Linked DNA regions of Homo sapiens: region 2 is linked to region 1. The links are contacts of gene promoters, found by promoter capture Hi-C in blood cells and fetal thymus (Javierre and others, 2016). All regions are on one chromosome and are shown on one strand. The core of a region is centred on a gene start or on the middle of the fragment in contact, and the rest is flanking DNA. Distances in the headings are between cores, read along the strand shown.

Evidence for each region. Contacts are between HindIII fragments. The CHiCAGO score rates a contact against its expected background, and 5 or more counts as called.
Region 2: a contact is called between a fragment that was not itself captured here and the fragment with the promoter of HNRNPD in region 1, in 1 of 17 cell types (fetal thymus). The highest score is 6.0, in fetal thymus.

Annotation. Positions count from the first base shown.
Region 1 is chr4:82,370,339-82,377,541 of GRCh38, reverse strand. HNRNPD (heterogeneous nuclear ribonucleoprotein D) reads left to right here and starts at 3,551. Exons shown (of 9, transcript NM_031370.3): 1 at 3,551-4,096; 2 at 5,958-6,014. The coding sequence starts at 3,864. HNRNPD-DT (HNRNPD divergent transcript) reads right to left here and starts at 2,974. Exons shown (of 2, transcript NR_183813.1): 1 at 2,877-2,974. RefSeq lists enhancers at 3,423-3,592, 4,953-5,002 and a silencer at 3,953-4,052. The HindIII fragment of the contact is 7,055 bases long and covers 2,425-7,203 here.
Region 2 is chr4:75,669,110-75,675,773 of GRCh38, reverse strand. It overlaps G3BP2 (G3BP stress granule assembly factor 2), which reads left to right and starts at 2,363. Exons shown (of 12, transcript NM_203505.3): 1 at 2,363-2,566. RefSeq lists enhancers at 1-549, 550-1,527, 2,264-2,553, 2,834-3,073, 2,506-3,483. The HindIII fragment of the contact is 474 bases long and covers 2,915-3,388 here.

The DNA of each region.
Region 1 (7,203 bases), core at 2,302-4,801:
ATTTTCCTGCCTCAGCCTCCCCAGTAGCCAGGATTACAGGCGTGCGCCACCACGCCCAGCTTATTTTTGTATCTTCAGTAGAGATGGGGTTTCACCACATTGCCCAGGCTGCTCTCGAACTCCCGGCCTCAAGTGATCCACCCACCTCGGACTCTCAAAGTGTTGGGATTAGAGGCGTAAGCCACCGCACCCGGCAACAGAAACGGGTTAAACACAACCCAAGGCGTCCCTGGGTGGGCAGGAACTGATTTTTTAAATTTTTTGTAGAGATAGGTTTTGCTATGTTGCCGGGGCTGGTCTCAAATTCCTGGCTTGGCCGGGCGCGGTGGCTCACACCTGTAATCCCAGCACTTTGGGAGGCCGAGGCGGGCGGATCACGAGGTCAGGAGATCGAGACCGTCCTGACTAGCACAGTGAAACCCCGTCTCTACTAAAAATACAAAAAAAATTAGCCGGGCGTGGTGGCAGGTGCCTGTTGTCCCAGCTACTTGGGAGACAGGAAGGAGAATGGCGTCAACCCGGGAGTGAGCCGAGATCGCGCCATTGCACCTCCAGCCTGGGCAACAGAGTGAAACTCTGTCTCAAAAAAAAAAAAAAAAAAAAAAAAATTCCTGGGCTCAAGCAATCATCCCTCCTTGGCCTACCAAAGTGTTGGGATTATAGGCATGAGCCACAGCACCTGGCCAAAAGTTTTTTTTTTTTTAATGCCAGAGATGAAATGAGATGGTGTGGAGAGGAGACTTTCAAGTCCCTGGAAGAACACCTAGTTTGCTTGAAAGCCCCTTAATCTAACAAGTTGGACATACTTATTATTTTGTCATTCAATAATTCAACTGGCAATTACATAGTGTGGATATACTGCTGCTGTGTTTATGTGTGTGTGAGAGTGTGTTAGGGAGGGAGAGATACATAGAAGACACTGTTTTCTAAGAACTCATGGTCTAGTAGAAAACAATGAAGAATAACAGAGGTAAAGATAAAGGGCTGTGAAAAGGGATCATTAATTCTGCCTCAGGAAGCCTGGGAAGACTTCACATAAATAGTAACATTTGTTTGTTTTTGAGACAGGGTCTCACTCTGCCTTTCTCACTGCAGCCTCCACCTTCCAGGTTCAAGTGATCCTCCCACTTCAGCCTCAGGAGTAGCTGGAACAACAGGAACCACCATGCCAGGTTAATTTTCTGACTTTTTGTAGAGGCAAGGTCTCACTCCGTTGCCCAGGCTGATGGCCAACTCCTTGAGGCAAGCAATCCTCCCGACTTGGCCTCTCAAAGTGCTGGATTACAGGCGTGAGCCACCACGCCTGCCAGAAGTTAAGTGAGTTCCAAGAAGAATATTGTGTGGATGCAGGAGCACATCCTGGATGTAGAGATCTTGGCCATAATATCAAGGACTATCAGTGATATGGACATCATACATCCTCATAAAGCATGTAAAGGTGTTAGCTTTAAAATCATTCCTAGGTTGTCTGGAACTTTTGACATAAATTCTAAGAATTCCAGAAGCTCCTAAGCTACATGTGAAATCAAAATGAACCTTTTGGAAAAGTCACTATTACCAAAAGGTGGGTATGTCTAATGATATCTTAAGATCAAAATAAATGACAATTACCGTCACTTGAGCCAGAAAAGATTAAACAGACTTCCCTTCAGTCAATCATCTTAGTTGTATCTAACCCGGAATATATGGTTTGAGCACCATATCCACTTTATCCTTTGCTAATATTCTGGCAGGTGGAGACAAATGTGGAGTCACTACCACTTTACGGTAAACATTCTTGGTATTACCTTTATGTGACTTGATTATTACGGGAGTTTGGTAAGATTATATTTTTAGGACGTTTTCAGAATTTGACCTGTATTCTTGAGTTTTAATTATTCTGTAATGTAAATTCTACTAACTTGATTAATAAAACTTACTTATAATCTTCCTTTGAGATTTTTGGATAGTGTCCAATTAATACAAATTCGTTTAACTGCAGTGGAAAATACCTAAACTTTTTTTTTTTTTTTTTTTTTGAGACGGAGTCTCGCTCTGTCGCCCAGGCTGGAGTGCAAGTGGCATGATCTCGACTCCCTGCAATCTCCACCTCCCGGGTTCAAGCGATTCTCCTGCCTCAGCCTCCTGAGTACCTGAGATTACAGGTACCGGCCACCACGCCCGGCTAATTTTTGTATTTTTAGTAGACACGGGGGTTTCACCATGTTGGTCAGGCTTGTCTCGAACTCCTGACCTCGTGATCCGCCCGCCTCGGCCTCCCAAAGTGCTGGGATTACAGGCGTGAGCCACCGCGCCCGGCCCAAATACTTAAACTCTTAAGATTTTTGCTGGAGTCTGCAAACTCGTCTTTGTTTCCCCCGTGCCCGAACACTTTAATTAAACAGGCAAATAATTATTTGTTGACTACAGAAGTACCTAGAAGCTTCATTTTCTTCTAAGGATACTGCTGGAAGCAGCAAATCCCAAAGCCCGAATAATCCAGTCTCCAGCCGAGGCAGCGGGAATTTTTAATAGGTGTATAAAATTACTTTTTATACACCTTAATGAAACGCCTAACGGTGTTACAAGAAAAGAAAAAAAAAAACCACGCACACACAACAAAAAAGCCAAACCCGAACACAAACTCATAAACCTCGTAAAGATGACTCACGACATTTATATATTCTATGTACAAAGGCTAAAGAACATTAAGCGAACCCTTGATTTAACACACTTTCCAATTATTAGTAACGTAAAGGAATCACGGTACGTTTTAGGATCTTTAAACAACAAAAGCAAAGCAAAAACAATGTTTTCCTTAAGATATGCAAGTTACCTGCTTCTTCGACCAAAAACAAAAAAATTCCAGGAGAAAAGCAGGCAAACAAAAATCTTACTTGGAAAGCCAAATCTTAAAAAGAAGCCCTATCGGCCCAGCGGCGATAGACGAAAACCTCAATGTCACCCGGTCCCGGGCGGCGACGGCAGGGAGAGTAGCTGCGGCAATCAGTGCGCGCGCGGTCCGCTGCGGCGCCTGGCGCTCCGCGGGCGTCCGGGTGGACAGCGCCAGGGGCACAGGGCTGACATCTCAGGGCTAATTCCCTCCTCCAGTGCGTAAATCCAGGCTTAAGCCGCCGCAGGGTGTGAGCCTCCCCTCCCCCACCCGAACGCCGCAGCTGCACGGGGCACGACAGCCTTCGCAGAGGTGCAGCCACACCCCGGCCTAACGCTGCTGCTCCCGCCGCTACTGGAGTGGTGGGGAGGGGTGAGTGGACTCCAGGAATCCTCGGAAGGGCGGGGGCGGAGGCAGGGGGCCCCTCTAGCCGCTACTTCGAAACAGCACTCCTTGTTCTCGATGGTCCCCGCGCGACTGTCTTAGCTCACGACACTTCCGGTTCCTTTTAAAGGCCCCCAAGGCTGTGCAACGCGGAGCGTGAGAGGAAGGTATAAAGGGTAGCGAGAGGGCGGGACCGAGGAGGAAAGGGAAAAAAAAAAAACTAGGGGGATAGGGGTGGGGGGACGCGCGAAGGGCGCGCTCTCGCGTCACGTGACCGGGACGCGCCGTTCTTCCGTCGGCCATTTTAGGTGGTCCGCGGCGGCGCCATTAAAGCGAGGAGGAGGCGAGAGCGGCCGCCGCTGGTGCTTATTCTTTTTTAGTGCAGCGGGAGAGAGCGGGAGTGTGCGCCGCGCGAGAGTGGGAGGCGAAGGGGGCAGGCCAGGGAGAGGCGCAGGAGCCTTTGCAGCCACGCGCGCGCCTTCCCTGTCTTGTGTGCTTCGCGAGGTAGAGCGGGCGCGCGGCAGCGGCGGGGATTACTTTGCTGCTAGTTTCGGTTCGCGGCAGCGGCGGGTGTAGTCTCGGCGGCAGCGGCGGAGACACTAGCACTATGTCGGAGGAGCAGTTCGGCGGGGACGGGGCGGCGGCAGCGGCAACGGCGGCGGTAGGCGGCTCGGCGGGCGAGCAGGAGGGAGCCATGGTGGCGGCGACACAGGGGGCAGCGGCGGCGGCGGGAAGCGGAGCCGGGACCGGGGGCGGAACCGCGTCTGGAGGCACCGAAGGGGGCAGCGCCGAGTCGGAGGGGGCGAAGATTGACGCCAGTAAGAACGAGGAGGATGAAGGGTGAGTAAGGGGCATCCCAGGATAGTCAGGCCCAACTAGTCCCCCTCCCCCTCTTTATTCCCCCGCCATTAGGCCTGGTTCCCGCTCTCAGCCCGTTCTCCGGGCCCCCATGCAGCCTCCTTGCACTGGTCTCCCTTTTTCTATGTTGGGTTCCCCGGACCTTCATTTCCTTCTTCCTTTGCCTGCTTATCGCCCCCCTCCCCCATCACACACGTTTCCACCTTTAGCCGTCACCATGCTGCTCCTCGGCCCGCCCTCCTTTCCTCCCTCGCCATGGGTCTCCTCCCACCGACTTAGCCGCCAGGATTTTTTCCCGCCTGTCGTGGGGTACCTTTTTTCTTTCCATGCTGTCCCCTCTTTTTCCCTTTTTCTACAGTCTTGGGCATAAAAACACAGACACAAACAGCTTCTCTGTTTGTATTACTAAGGTTTATTTGGTGCTTCTCCACCATCCTGAAACGATGCGATTGTTTATAAGCACATGTTTTGGGGAACGCGTAGGCTGTCCACCTCTGCCTCTCCCTTGTCGGCCTTAGGCCGACTGTTTTCTTGGGATTTTGAATAAGTTTCGCCTAAGGATTTACTCATTTTCTCCACCATACGCTATCGCACAATGGCATACTCATACAGGCCCTACATTTTGACATGCAGACCAAATTGGGTCTGGTGAAATGCTCCGAGTTTCTTGTTGGTACATTGGTTTTGCTCCGCGGGCTCTGGTTAAGTTCTTAGTCGATCGGGCCTGCACTTGACTGGAGCTGTTCCTATCTCCGGCCTAGCATCTACCCTTCCCCCACCCCACTGAGTTATTCTAACCGCGCACCCTTTTCGCGCCCTCAGCTATTGGGTTCCCCAACTGTTAGTACAGATTGTACCTTACTTTTTATGTGCAACCTAATTTTTTACAACCCCCAGCCCCCTTTTTTTCCCGGTGCCCAGGATCCTATTTTGGTGTCTTGATATCTGTTTCCCGCCCACTAAGGGAGGCCTGTAGTCCTCTTAAGAGAAACAAATCCTGTATTGTGCTATGGGATACTTTTTTTTTCTTTTTGGTGCAAATTTCTTAGTATTAACTTGCTTCCTCCAATTGAAATAACAGTTGTATATACTACCTAAATCTGCATTTAGTGTATTAAAATGCAGCATTTGGGATTGGGAACATAATACGGGAGTTAGCAGGAGGGACTAAATCAGGTTTCTTGGTTGAGTTTTCTTAGCTCCGATTACTGACCGATGATCGTGGGTTCACGCTTCCATTCCTTTTTGTAATGGGGAGGGGTGTGTGTGTGTCTGAATTTTTTTTTAACTGTAAAGAGAAAGGTGTTGGTGGATATAACAAGATGTCGCTTTAATCTAGTATTAGAAAACACGATTTCCTTTACTGAGAAAGAGCCCAGGATTTGGAGGGAAAGTTGGGAGGGGAGAAGCACTTTGGAATATAGGGTTTATTAAGCCCAGCCTAGGCAGATTCTTGTCAGGCTGTTTGATGATAGTGCTGGTTTTGGGGGAGTGGTGGTGGGAAGGGAAGCAAACTTTTAAAAATTAAACAGAACCAACTCGAATTGTATATAGCTTATTTGAGAAAGGAAGATGTTAGATATTTGGAAACTTAAAACCTTTAACATTTTGGTTTTCGTTTGCTGAATTCTGTTCTTTGGACAGAGGCACCAAAATGATTAATTGTATAACTTCCTGTTTGGGGCAGGCTTTCTGTTAGCCCTGATAATTCAAATCGCAAAGCAGCTGACTTTATAGTTACCTACTGTTGAAGTGTAAATGAATTAAAGTTTTTAACCCTAACAGTGTCAAAAACTAAAACTAGAATTTTGATTGGTTGCTGTACCGGTTGTTAATTCCCTAGCCATTCAAACTCCTCCCCACGACACTCTGAAGCAGCGACGGCACAGCGGGAAGAATGGTAAAACTTTTAAATTTTATTTCTGTATTATAAAGGTTTCAGTAGTCATAATATGTAGAGGCTGTGTATTGGTTAGTTGCCCATTGATCCCCAGGAAATTCTAGACCATAGTACATACAGTAGGTTTGTACCTGGGATATATACCTTTTATAGGCATCATGTGTAATCTTTGGGCAAAATTGATGCCGTTACATGGTATTTGGTCTGTGGTAATGCATGTAGTTGCAGTTTGGCAATTTAAGCTAAACAATTAGTAACGATATTTTTATATCGAGCAAGAAAAAATATTACCGTAATCTTCACATTTGATTTATTTTAAGATGAAAAATATTTTTGTTGGAATTTAAGTTTAATGGCTAAATATGAAGACTCCTTGATATAAAATATTGTGTTTAAAATGTCATGCATGTTATACTGAAATATTCTGGAGATGTCTGAAGCAGTTCTTTAAGCAGCACTGTGTATTATGGAAAAATGTTTGTCTTTTACCTAGCATATTTGTAAATAGACCTTTAATAAGAAGTGTGTGTGTGTGTGTGTGTGTGTATATATATACCATTAAAAGGTGGGCTAATGTGGCTTTCCACTACAGCTCTTACCAGATTTTTTATTTTCAGTGTGATTTGGCTGGAATATTAATAACAGTTGGTTGACATGTATTCACAATTGCATGACTTCTCTTTGGAGGCTGGTAGGTTGAGTATTGTTCTTTTTATCCATCCTTTCCCCTCCCCTAAATGTCAGTCTTTCTGCTTTTAGGATTATATTTGAATTTTCAGGGGTTTATACACCACCACTGGAGAGTAGAAGGCCACTAACTTGCAGGCAGTTAACTTATATCTTTACAAGCTACATTCTATTTTAAGAGCCTATTTAGGGTAACATTTAAAGATTTGCTTATCACTGTATTCTCATCCACTGAAATCAGTCCAGCTTTACCTTGGAGAAAAAGCAGATGGGAAACAGGCAAGGGGAAAAGCAAAAAAGAGGAAAAAAAAAAGACTGGGGTCACAGTTTCGATGAATGTTATTCCCTGTATTTGGTGAGTGGTGGGCACTAGCAGCTCAATTTCACTGCTAGCTAATAGTGGCAAATTAAGATTAAACTATAAACTATTTGACATTACTCCATTATGTATTTTGAGTCTCATGTAATTGTTTCCAGTGATTTGAAATGACCATAAACTTAA
Region 2 (6,664 bases), core at 1,902-4,401, 6.7 Mb after region 1:
GTCACCCAGGCTGGAGTGCAATAGCGCGATCTCAGCTCACCGCAACCTCCGCCTCCCAGGTTCAAGCGATTCTCCTGCCTCAGCCTCCCGAGTAGCTGGGATTACAGGCATGCGCCACCACGCCCGGCTAATTTTGTATTTTTAGTAGAGACGAGGTTTCTCCATGTTGGTCAGGCTGGTCTCAAACTCCTGACCTCAGGTGATCCGCCCCCCTCGGCCTTCCAAAGTGCTGGGATTACAGTCGTGAGCTGCCGCGCCCGGCCTATATCAGTGGTTTTTAAAGTGTGGCTCCTAGAGCAGCAGTAGCACCATCAGCTGAGAACTTGTTAGAAGTGCAAATTCTCGGGCCTCTGTTGAATCAGAAACTTAGGGAGTGGGGCCCAACTATCTGTTTTAACAAGCCCTACAGGTGATTTCGGTGCACATTAAGGTCTGAGAACCACTGCTCTAGAGAAAGTTCTGCACCTCTGCAGGATACATGGTGAAGAATATTTATAATAGCATTGCACGGAAGAGCTCCAAACCGGAAACACTTGAAGGTTAGTCAGCAGTAGGGCAGATAAGTGAATTGCGGCAATTAGTACAATGGGAGTATTCTATAGTTTGCCTGAGGGTATGGACTGTGGAGGCAGATTGCCTGTGTTTGAATCCCAGCTCCAGTGAATAGTAGCAGTGTAGTCCTGGGTAAGTTACTTGACCTCTCCAAGCCTGTTTTCTCATCTATAAAATGGGCATAAAAATAGCAACTACTGGCCGGGTGCGGTGGCTCACGCCTGTAATCCCAACACTTTAGGAGGCCAAGGCGGGCGGATCACGAGGTCAGGTGTGTTCGAGACCAGCCTGGCCAACATAGTGAAACCTCGTCTCTACTAAAAATATAAAAATTAGTTGGGTGTGGTGGCATGCGCCTGTAGTCCCAGCTACTAGGGAGCCTGAGGCAGGAGAACCGCTTGAACCCGGGAGGCGGAGGTTGCAGTGAGCCAAGACCGTGCCATTGCACTCCAGCCTGGGCGACACAGAGAGACTCCATCTTAAAAAAAAAAAAAAAAAAAAAATATATATATATATATATATATATGTACATACATATAGCAACTAGCTCATAGGGTTACTGTGAGGCTCAGAAGGCTGTATAATTACAAGAATGCCTGGTATATAAGCCCAGTATATTAAAGGACAGCCGGCATGTAATGTATTTTGATGCTTTAAGGAAAAACATCAGGTTGATTTCATTAAAGTGATGGTCTGCCCAAATATTTTGCATATAACAGTATCTTTAAGCAGTCTAAAGGTAAAGATATTGTAGACTTTGGAGGCCCTAATGTTGGCATTGCCTCTGCCAATATTTAAGGTATTTGACGTATTGTCTTAACATGCCAAATACCTTAAAATTGCCCTTACAGGATTGCGAAGAAAACTGATGAGATGTACATGCTTGCGTCCACCATGTTTAGTTCGTAAGCATTCATTAATGTATTTTTTCCTTTCCGTTTCTTTGAACACTTCCTCAGTCCTTCATTCCAAAATTCCTGTGCTATCTCGGTATTCTCTGAAAACACTGCCAGACCTAAGATGCAAAGTGGCTTCCTTGACTACAAGATTTGGCTTGGCTTTGTCCATGAAACAAGGTCACCAGTGTCTCACCCTGGGGGCAAGTCTGGGCTTAGAGCTAGAACAGGACTGTAATCCTTGTATTTCAGGCCTTCTTTTAGCTTTAGTATGTAAAATGCTTTAGTATCTACTGATATTTAGCCATGCCTAAATTCGTAACAAGGACACAAAGAAATAGTCTTTTCCCCCTCTGTAAAGCCCACGTCATGTTCTTCCTTTACTGCAGGGCCTCTTAATGGGGCTTAAAACCTAGGATGGGTTAAGTAAACAATGTAGGTGAGTTTAGTGTGCAAACAGCTGAAATCACCGGCTGCATTTTAAGCTCGTCTACAGCAGCAACCTGCAGACACCTATTCAGAGAGATTACTAAATTCCCTCCTTCCCATTAATAAAAAGGACCAGAATATCAGTCTACAAAAGACACTGCGTTGCTGCGAACCAGCTCTCGCTTGCGCGATCAGGAAGAAGGGCGGCAAGGCTGGAGCCTCGGGACCGGAGAAAGGCAGCCTGCTTGTGACGTCAAATCAGCGGACTCTTATCTTGGCTTTAGGCCGGTTCCGGTTCCCCGGCTTTCCGGGCGCGAGCGTGTGCGAGCGCGGCAGCGTACTGCGCGTGCTCCGCAGAGGGACACGGGAAGGTTGGGTCCGGCTCTGGAGGAGATGCGTGATTGGCTGACGCTGTGCTCGGGGGTTCCCTGGCCCTTTCGGCAGGGGTAAAACAATAAGAGGGGGCGGTGGCAAAGGGGGCGGGACGTCCGTGGTCCTTGTCGCACGTCGCAGCGCCTGGCGCCCGGGAAGAGGTGGTTGTGAGGCAGACGAACTCGCGGCTCTCCGGCTTCCGAGGCTTCCGAGTTGTCGGAGGAAGGGGGCGGCGAGCAATAAGAACCCGCCGCACCCGGTCCTCAGCGACTCTTCTGACCTCCGCGCGACGTACCCGCCGCCGCCGTTGGCTGGAGGTGTGTACGGGCGCCGGGAGGGGAGGTCGGTGTGGTGGTCGGAAAGGGACATTCCATTCGCGCTCCGCGGCGCGAGGCAATCGTCCGGTGTGTGAGCCCGGGAGCCGGAGGTGTAGCGGCAGAGACATTGTTCTTGCCGGCTCCCTACGGTGCCGTGTGTGCGTGAGAGAAGACCAGTCTTTCCTCTAGGTGAGGGGTGGGAGGCCGCCTGGGAAGGGAGGTGACCCGCGAGCGTCTTGCGGGCAGAGGGCTCCGAGTGCACAGGTGGGGTTGAGGTTTATTGGGGATGAGGTGGCGAAGTGGGGGGGGAGGCACGCAGCAGCTCCCGAAGGCGCGCTGATGGAAGCTTAATACAGGAAGTGTGGGAGCAGGCTTTCTGGAGGGGATGTTTTAGGGTGGGTAGCCCACCGTTCCTGTTTCCGAATCGTTTTCGGCTCTTGTACCTTGTTCCTTCGGAGCGGAGAGGCCGTCGCCACCCCGCCCGTGGGGGGAGGGGAAAAGAGGTTGTGTCGACGGAGGCAGAAGCGACGCAGATGCGAAAGTGGCGGCCTCCGGGCACCATTTCTGTGCACGGAAACAGAATCCGGGTTTGAAGGCAGCCGCCGCTTCGCTTACCCAGTACCTAGTGTTCCGTCGTGTTTGACCAACCCCCCTCTCCCTGCCACCGCGGGTTTAATCCGAACGTGTTCGGATACTGGAACTGTAACGTGCGCCTTCTTCGTCCCCCTCTTATGCAGACGATCCCTTATTGACTCGGGAATGGCTTTTGGGGGATGGGTTCCCGCTTTTGTTGGGATGGGGGGACAGAAAGGAACAGAAGCTTCCCTAGATTGTGTTGATTTTGTTAGTGGAATCTGATAGAATTTTTCCTGCGTCTCTAAAAGCAGATTTCTTAAGATGGCCCTTTGCCGCTTTGGGGCGAATATAGATTTTCGTCTATAATTTCCTGCATAGATCAGCTTTTTTCCCCAAGACATACTTAATGTTCTAACGGATTTGGGGGGTGGGAGGAGAGTGCCTTTTCCTTCATAACAACAACAAAAAAAAGGCACTTGCACTTTTAGCTGGAATAGTAAAGTCCTGTTCTCCCTGTATGATTGTTGTGGGATATTAACTTGGATTAAGATACTGTGGTTTTAGGTTCAAGGCTCTGTACCTTGTTCTGGTCTTTCAAACGTTAGTGTTGCAGGTACCTGGATCTAGGAAACATTAACTGTCGTTAAGAGAGCCCCGGTGTACTAGAGTGGGAGATGATGGCAATTTTTCTCTAGCTCCATATTTGGCAGTTAATATAGCCTTAGGCATGTGAACCAAGTTTCTAAGTAAACTTTTGGCCCTGTTAGCATCCAGTGGTCTTTTTGATAATCCAAGATTCCTGGTCTTAGGAGATAAACGGTACGATGAGTTTGAACCTCAGGATTGAATTATCCTTTCTTTGGCAGTAACATTTTTCTTAAATGTTTAAGATTACTCTTATGGGCCTTTATGTTATGATTTAATCTTTACAAACTAATTCTGAAAAGCAGTCAAGGAATTGTAGGAATAATAAGGACCTAGAATGAATTTCTTACTAAGAGCTGTCATAGTTCAGATTGATATTCAGGGTCGAAATATTAGTAATAGTGAAAAAACATCAAGAGTGAACCAGAATGCTTGTGGGATGGATGGGGATAAAAATTAGAAGGTAAAGAAGAAAACACATTATTTGACCATTTCGTAGAGTAACTAACTTAACTGTTCAGTTAGCAGCTGAGCAGTTGATTTGTCAGCAGGCAACTCCTGGTTTGAAGAAAGTGTTGGCACTGTGTCTTTAGATTCTGAAAACTTCCCTCCTTATCCTGCAAAATTATCGCTGTTTATTACGCATAATTAGGATTGAACATTTTCCCCCTAGATTGCTTTAAAAAGACTTTCCACATATTTTGAGTGAATATGGAGACAGTGAATGACTCCTTTTCAATGTTGATTTTGAAAGGCACAAACTAAAGTGTTGCGTCTGAACTTAAATTCAGTAGAATTTAATGGACAAACATGACCTAGTTACTCTCCACTGGTAGACACTTGTTTTATATCCGATAGAATAAATTGGTCCACCCACCTTCAGGAAGGTCCTGGCCTACCTTCAGAAGCAATAGAATTAGTTTCTTGACTGTCGTGTTTCTGCTTACTTTTATCTGCTAATTTCCAAGTATTTTACCCTATCTTGAAACCATAGGTATATTGAAAATTATTCTTGGATTTTCTGTTGCTGTCCTGCTGTATTCCTTTGCTTTTCACTCTTCTCAACAGTTTCACATAAGCTAACAATTGCTTGTTTAAAATTAATTTTTTGTATTGTTGGAAGAGCTGGCTGCTCTTCCAAAGCGGTTGTTCCTAACCAAAGTGTAATGAAAACATCAGTTGAGTCAGGAGTCAGGAGACCTGATTTCAAATCCTCTTTCTTTTTACTGTAACTGAGGAACCCCAAACACCTTTCCTTAGGCTCTCTAAACATCCTTTTCTGTAAATGAAGATAATGCCCTATCTATTTTAAAGACAAAAGAAAATAGTAGGTTACTTGTTAAACTTTAAAACATAGTATAAATACATGCTTTATTTTTGTGGACAGCAAGCATTTCCATTTCTTACTGCTTGGTCACTTTTAATAGCTTCTGAATTTTAAAACTAGCCTCCCTCAACTTCTGAGAAGGACAGAAAACAAAAACACCTTTTGGAGCCTGAATAAGAGATTTAATCCATAACTTACTTTTATTATTTATTTGTACCACTATGATTCTTAGATCTTCTTTGTGAAGCTTTCATTCAATGGTGTACCACAAAAGATTGAAGGTCATTTCTTTAAAAAGGTATAGTGTTCCTTAGATTGTTTAAGTTACTTCAAACAAAAACCATCTGGAATTTCAGAAAGTTCCAGTATTAATATGCATTTAGCTGTTGGAAATGGATATAGTCCATGGTTCAATTAAAATAAATAAACCTGACTAGTTTGAGCCCAGCTATGAGTGAGGGACTCCAGAGGGGAAAGGGGTAAGTATCCTATAGTGGAGATAAGCTGTGTCTTAGCACCCACATAACCTTTGGTAACAGTATCTGGTAAAGAGAACTGCCTCCTATTACTAGAGGTCTTATTCTTTTTATAATAACTAATACCAAGTACTTACAACTCAGCTCACTGCAACCTCCGCCCCCGGGTTCAAGCGATTCTCCTGCTTCAGCCTCCTGAGTAGCTGGGATTACAGGCGCCCGCCACTGCACACGGCTAACTTTTTTGTGTTTTTAGTAGAGATGGGTTTTGCCATGTTGGTCAGGCTGGTCTCGAACTCCTGACCTCAGGTGATCCACCCATCTCGGCCTCCCGAAGTGCTAGAATTACAGGCGTGAGCCACTGCACCCGGCCTCTTTTTCCTTTTGTAGTTTCTGGTACATACATAGTAGCCATAAAATAAATGTTGAAATGAATTTATTTTGTATAACCCATTGACTCAGCTTGTGGATGGGAATGAATGAAGTAAGACAAAGGCGCAGAGAGTGAAATTGCAGAGAATAATATTAGGTGATTAAAATATTTGTATAGAATTTGATACAGGGATGAGAAAGTATAGTAGGAGATAAATTTGAAAGGTTGGTTATGACATTGAATGTCAGACTGGATTTCTGTGTAGGGCCTTAGATGCCAAACTGAATGCAGGTGTTTGGATTTTACTCAGTACAGTATATACTACACGTGATACAGGGGCTTGAAAGACTTTTGAAGAATAAAAGGTCTGAACAGTGGGAGTGAAAAGGAGGGCACAAATTCCACCTTCTGAATTGTAAGGATTTCACAGTTTAAGTGGCAAAGCTAAAGGGGAGAAAGTCACGACTGAGCTTTCAAGTTGAGAAGATTATGACACTTTTAACAGAAATAAGGAAATAGCTTTCTTTGGTGCATGCGTGTATTGGGACATATGTGGGTCATGTCTAGGTGTTCAGTATGTGGTGACAAATGTAAAATTTGAACTTATGGTATAGACTAGATACACGTTTAGGTAGACATGAGACCAGAAGCTGAAATTGCCAGGTTAGAAGACAGAACCTTGAGAAATTCTGCGTTTGGAT